Linked DNA regions of Homo sapiens: region 2 is linked to region 1. The links are contacts of gene promoters, found by promoter capture Hi-C in human tissues and cell types (Jung and others, 2019). All regions are on one chromosome and are shown on one strand. The core of a region is centred on a gene start or on the middle of the fragment in contact, and the rest is flanking DNA. Distances in the headings are between cores, read along the strand shown. Region 1 holds the start of NMNAT2 (nicotinamide nucleotide adenylyltransferase 2). Region 2 overlaps NMNAT2 (nicotinamide nucleotide adenylyltransferase 2).

What was found. Contacts are between HindIII fragments. The study calls those that stand out against the background at their distance.
Region 2: a contact is called between a fragment that was not itself captured here and the fragment with the promoter of NMNAT2 in region 1, in 1 of the 25 tissues and cell types used here (heart right ventricle).

What each region holds. Positions count from the first base shown.
Region 1 is chr1:183,416,954-183,419,803 of GRCh38, forward strand. NMNAT2 (nicotinamide nucleotide adenylyltransferase 2) reads right to left here and starts at 1,427. Exons shown (of 11, transcript NM_015039.4): 1 at 1,230-1,427. The coding sequence starts at 1,314. The HindIII fragment of the contact is 5,834 bases long and covers 1-2,850 here.
Region 2 is chr1:183,373,444-183,376,444 of GRCh38, forward strand. All of the region lies in intron 1 of NMNAT2 (nicotinamide nucleotide adenylyltransferase 2), which reads right to left. Among named protein-coding and RNA genes, the nearest start is that of NMNAT2, 43 kb to the right of the region's middle. The HindIII fragment of the contact is 5,992 bases long and covers 1-3,001 here.

The DNA of each region.
Region 1 (2,850 bases), core at 177-2,676:
GCCTTGCTGGCGGGCCAGGTCAGGGCCTCCCACACGCTCTCTCATCCATCCCAGCCCACTCGCTTTTCCCTACTCCTCGCTTCTCTCAGTTTCAAGAAAAAGCACCCCCAACTTCTAACTTCTCAATTCCTGCTTCTAAAGTGACCTCCGCGTCCCTCTTTCCGTGTCTAAACGCTCATGCCCCACGCCTTTGAGTCCTACGAGCAGCTGCGAAGCCGCGTGGCTTCCCACCGGTGGCGCGAGACCTCCAATAGGCATCTATCGATCACCTTTCCCCTACCGCTGCTGGACCCCGAACCAGCCAGCCGGATGCCCCCGCTCGCTCTCTCTGACTCCACGCCCCAAAGCTTCTAAGAAACAAACGCGCGATAAGTCCCCTCCCCCCAACACGCACACGCATATACTCACACACAGTCATTCGCACATTCGTACACACACTAGACGCCTCAAGCCTTCCGAGTGCCATCGCCACCCTGGGCAGAGCCTCAGCCAACTTGGGCCCCGATCCTTCGGCTCCGGCTCGCGCAGGGCCTCCCGCAGCCTCCGCCCGGCCCCCTCCCCGTCCTAGGCAGCGGGTCCCTGAGGCCGAACCTAGGCGGAAAAGGGCCCCCTCCCTATTCACTCAGCATCCACCTCGCGCGGGCAATACACGGCCCACAATTCCCAAACACTGGTCCCTGGGCCGCCCAGAATCACCAGCCAAATCCGAAATTAATCTTGAAGCCCCAGCCCCTGTCACCGGTGTGTCGGGCGCGAGTGTGTTTGCGAATCCCAGGCACATACATGATTTAACTCCTTCGAGCTTTCGGCCCATCCTAAACAAACAGCACGTTATCTCCAGCCCCTTCCTCCCCTACTCGGCGCCCCAACCTCTGCCCCCATCCCGGTCTTCGCCAGCCTGGTAGCCGAACCACCGCACCGCCACACTCCAGTTCTGGTATCTCGAACCCCTGCCCAGCCCCAAATGATACTCATCTCTAGTCCCCTCCCATCCCCCACCTTTGGCCCCCTGCGAGCCGGGTCTGGCCCCGGCAAGTGACGCCTCGGAAACGCAGTCTGCGTACCCTCCCCTGAGTCCAAAATGAAGGGGCCGACCTCCACCAGCTGGATGAGCCGGCCCACCCCTCCGAAGGGGCACACGCCTTCCCGTTCGATCGCCCTGGAAAACACAGGTGCCTGGGAAAGGAGAGGAGCGGAAGCGGCTTCCAGAGGTGGGCGGGAGGACTCACCAAACATCTGAATGTGCCCTTTGGTGATGGGATTGAAGCTGCCGCAGGCGAGCAAGATAACGTGGGTCTTGGTGGTCTCGGTCATGGTGCAGATGGGTCCTTCGCGGTGGTCTAGGGGTTGCCTCTCTTTTTGTGTCTCGTTGTGTCTGCAGAGGGAGAAAGGAAGGCGAGGCTCCGGCGGTGGATGCTGTGGACTCCAAGGAGCCGCTCCAGACGCAAACCGCGTCACTCTCCGCCTCCCCTTAACGCTTGCAGCTCCGGCTAGATCCGAGGCTGCTTTTGTATTGCTCTGCTCTCTTCTCTCCTCGGTCGCTCTCTTTTCGTTCTGGCTTCCTTCGCATCTCTCGCCTGGTGCCCCACCCCATCCTCTCTATCGCCCCCAGCCCACTTCACTCCATCACTGTCTTCCTTAGAGTTTATCCAGAAGGCAAGACGTGGTATCCAAGCTCAGAACCAAGAGCCCACAGCATGGTGTGAGCTCTTTCTGCCTCTTGCCTCATCTTGATTCAGTTTTCCTCCTCATTCTAACATTTTTCTGTCCCCCCTACTTTCTCTAACATCTCCAAGTTAAAAAATGTTTGATCTTAAGGTATTTTTTCTTTCTCTCTTCCTCAAAATTTTAAGTGAGAAATGACCATTGTTTATTTCAGTAGTATTCATTTCTGCTTTTCCTTTTTCCTTTATCTGATGATTCCAAACTATTGAGTTGAGTCCAAATCTTGATCTGCTGGCTGCAGAGAGATAGGGGTGATCTAAGCCCTTCCTCTGCAATACTGATCCTTTTCGTGGGCGAAGCAATGCTATCCGTTTGAGAGAACATGAAGGGGGCAGAGTTACTAAAACTGTATTAGAAAATTATGGGGATCCGCCGGGTGCGGTGGCTCATGCCTGTAATCTCAGCACTTTGGGAGGCCGAGGCGGGCGGATCACGAGGTCAGGAGTTCGAGACCAGCCTGGCCAGCACGGTGAAACCCTGTCTCTACTAAAAAGCAAATACAAAAACTAGCCGGGCATGGTGGCGAGTGCTTGTAATCCCAGCTACTCAGGAGGCTGAGGCAGGAGAATTGCTTGAACCTGGGAGGCAGAGGTTGCAGTGAGCGAAGATCGCACCACTGCACTCCAACCTGGGCGACAGCGAGAATCCATCTCGAAACAAAAAAAAAGAAAAAAGAAAATGATGGGGATCCTCCATAAGCTACCAAAGTTGAGACAAAGACTTACCATTTAACAAGTGTTTCTTGAGGGCTCATTATGTGTCAAGTATTGCTATAAACCCTGCTGGTGAAGCAAAGTCACTGTCTTCATTTTACTGGAGGAAGATAGACAATAAATATTAGATGGCAATTGTGCAATGCACAGTAAGTGAATGCAATTTACTCTCTGACAGAGCAGAGAGTGAGTGGAGAAGAGAGGACGAATCAAGTAGTCTGAGAAGGCCTCTCTGGGGAGGTGACATTTCAGTGAGACCTGAGCGACAGGAGTAGTTGCTAGCTCACGTATTCAGGGACAGGGAAGGGCTTACTGTATTCATAGAAATGAAAGGCCAGTGATGCTAGAAAGTATGGGCAAGGGGAAAAATGATAGAAGACTGAGCAGCAGGTGATCAGGGCCAGATCAAATG
Region 2 (3,001 bases), core at 500-2,999, 43 kb before region 1:
GGCAGCACTAGGCCTGACAGGGCAGTTGACTCCTTCTGTAATAGCCACTGGGGGAAAAGCCTCAGAATATCCGTGAAATTCCATGGAGTCACCAAGGAAAAACAAGTGTCCACAGCAAGGGTCTGCACTTATTCTAAAGCTTCTGCCACTTCTGTTGAGATGGTTGAACTTTATTCTTTTTTTTTTTTTTTTGAGACAGAGTCTCACTCTGTTGCCCAGGCTGGAGTGCAGTGGTGCCATCTCGGCTCACTGCAACCTCCGCCTCCTGGGTTCAAGTGATTCTCCTCTCTCAGCCTCCAAAGTAGCTGGGACTACAGGCACACGCAACCATGCCCGGCTAATTTTTGTATTTTTAGTAGAGATGAGGTTTTACCATGTTGGCCAAGCTGGTCTCAAACTTGTGACCTCAAGTGATCTGCCCGCCTCAGCCTCCCAAAGTGCTGGGATTACAGGCATGAGCCACTGCGCCTGGCCAGTTGAACTTTATTCTTTATTAGTAATTAAGAAGTGCTACCTTGTATTGAGCAATCATTATGTGTCACTTTGCTAAATACATTTTGTATATTATTTCATGTAACTCTTATGCAATAACTCAGGTGTTGGATACAATAACTCAGGTGTTGTTGTCCTCAAATTTTAGGTAAGGAATCTGAAGTTCAGAGAATGTAAGTAACTGCTCCAAGGTCATCCATGTAGGGTTGAGGGTCTGAACCAATTCCCTCTCTCCCTAAGTCTACACTCAACCAGTATACCGTGGCACCATTTATTTTGACAAGAAGAATTACCAACAGATAAAAAGCAAAAAAGTGATGTTTCCTCCAAAGGGAAGATAGACTTCAGGAATCTGCTTGCACCCCCCTGGCTCTGGGCACCTCACCTGTGCAATTCCAGACCAGGCCATCTGTCCTCAAGAGGCCGCTGGCCTCAGAGCCTTCTACCCCGTCAAGAAGAGCCTTTCTCTCCCCACTTATGGGGGATCATCTGCTTAAACTAGGCCGGAGTCATAATCATTCATTCCAGAAGGGGCTGTGATTCACATCTGAGCTTCAGAAAATGGTTTAGTTTGATTTAAAGGGGAGATGAAAGCAAAATAAATGCTCAGATGCTGACAAATTTCTCCAGATCTTAATTTACATTCATTTTCCTTTCAGAGCATTTGATTTGTTTTTATTTTCAAACTGTGTTGTACCACATGCAAGGAAAATAGATTTACTTAAGCTGTATCCTGTGATTTCATTGTTTATTAATATCAATACCAAGTAGATGAGGAGTGCTAAGAGAGGAACATCAGATGGCTTTCCATCTTCTCTCTAGGAAGCCATAATGAGAACCATCAAGCTTAGGAGTTTCAGAGGCTTAGGCAGTCTTCAGGGCTGACAGCCACACTGAGTGTCACTTCCCCAGATGCTCCCTTGTAGTCAGACTGACCTTGGAACAATGCAACTGGAAGACTTTAGTCCCCTCCCTAGGAATAGGATGTGTGTTGATATTCCTAGTGTGTGTCTAAACATGGTCTGCATTTAGCTTGAGTGTTGACATTCATCGATCCCTAAATGTTTCAAAAGAGGGAAGCATTCCAGCCTAGCTTTTCAGGGAAGCAGAGAATCAGGTTTTTCAGGACTGGGGGCAGGAAGGCCTCTTAGGACAATCACCACAGCTTCCTAACTCATGCCCCTACCCCCATCGGCTTTGTCTCTCCTTTGTCCTCCACAGACCTGCCATCATAATATGATCTTACCACCTCCCTATTCAGAATTCTTCACCATTAGCTACTAAAATAAATAAATAAACAAATAATAACAACCCATGGCCAGTGCTTCCCTTTATTTATCCAATCATTTGACAAATATTTATGGAGCACCTGCTCTGTGCCAGCCATAGTTTGGCTCTGGCCAGCCTCTTCAGCCACATCTTCTACTCCACTGTCCCCCAACTCCACACCCTACTCCCCACTTACTCTTCAGCACTTTCTATTTCCTGAGCCTGACTTGCGCTTTCCCTCCCCTATGCCTTTGCCCAGGCTGTTTCCTGTGGCAATTCCTCTCTTCCACACACATGTATCCAAGTTCTACACAGCTTCAAAGACAACTCAAGTCTCAACTCACTTTCTCTAAGAAAACTTCTTGGATTTCCCCAAGTCAGCATTAATTCTCTGACCACCTGCAGCCTCCCCTATCTCCTGGAAGAAGTAGCTGCTCCCCTCTCAATTCCTTGACCACCATGCTCTTTCCAATCCCTCCATTAGTTTCTTATACCTTGGTGGCATTACTTCTTGACTACTATCCATTGAACGAAGAGTCCATGTTTATTCTCCTCCCTCCAACTAAGTCCAGAACAAAGCCTCTCAGAGTACTTATGAGTCAATGGGTACATGAACACTTTCTCCTCTGTTCTCTTGGCACTGTGTGTTCATAATTAGGTTATTGATCACACTCTGGTATTAGAACAACCTGTGCTGTGTAGATAATTATAAACCACTTAAGGGCAAAACTCTTGTCTTGAGTATCTTTTTCATCTCCCACCACATCTGAAAAGAAACACCTCACTCAAAGTGGTCACTCACTAATGCTATTAAGATGAAAGGTAAAAAAATTAAATTCCCATCCTTCCAGGTAGGCCTAGGAAGTACTGGGGAACACCTAAGGAGTGCTGAAGAGGTCATGATATCTTGACATCCAGTTCTGTTCAGCTAACATTTATGAGGACAACCTATGTGTTTTATTAATATTAATGTACTGATATAATAAATTAATGGTATTAATAATTAATATTCATTATTAATCTCATTAGTTGAGAACCTATTAAGTGGGTCACATTTGAGGGTAAAATTGGAGAAACAGAGGTGAATATGACATGATTCTCCTTTCCAGGAGTTTACAACAAAAATATAGAAGATAGAGCTATGTGAAAAAACAGCCAGGCTCTACAGCAATGGCTCATGAGTGATGGCTGAGTGCTTGTGCTGGTCTATAAGTAAGCATCCATTGATCTATGATGAGGA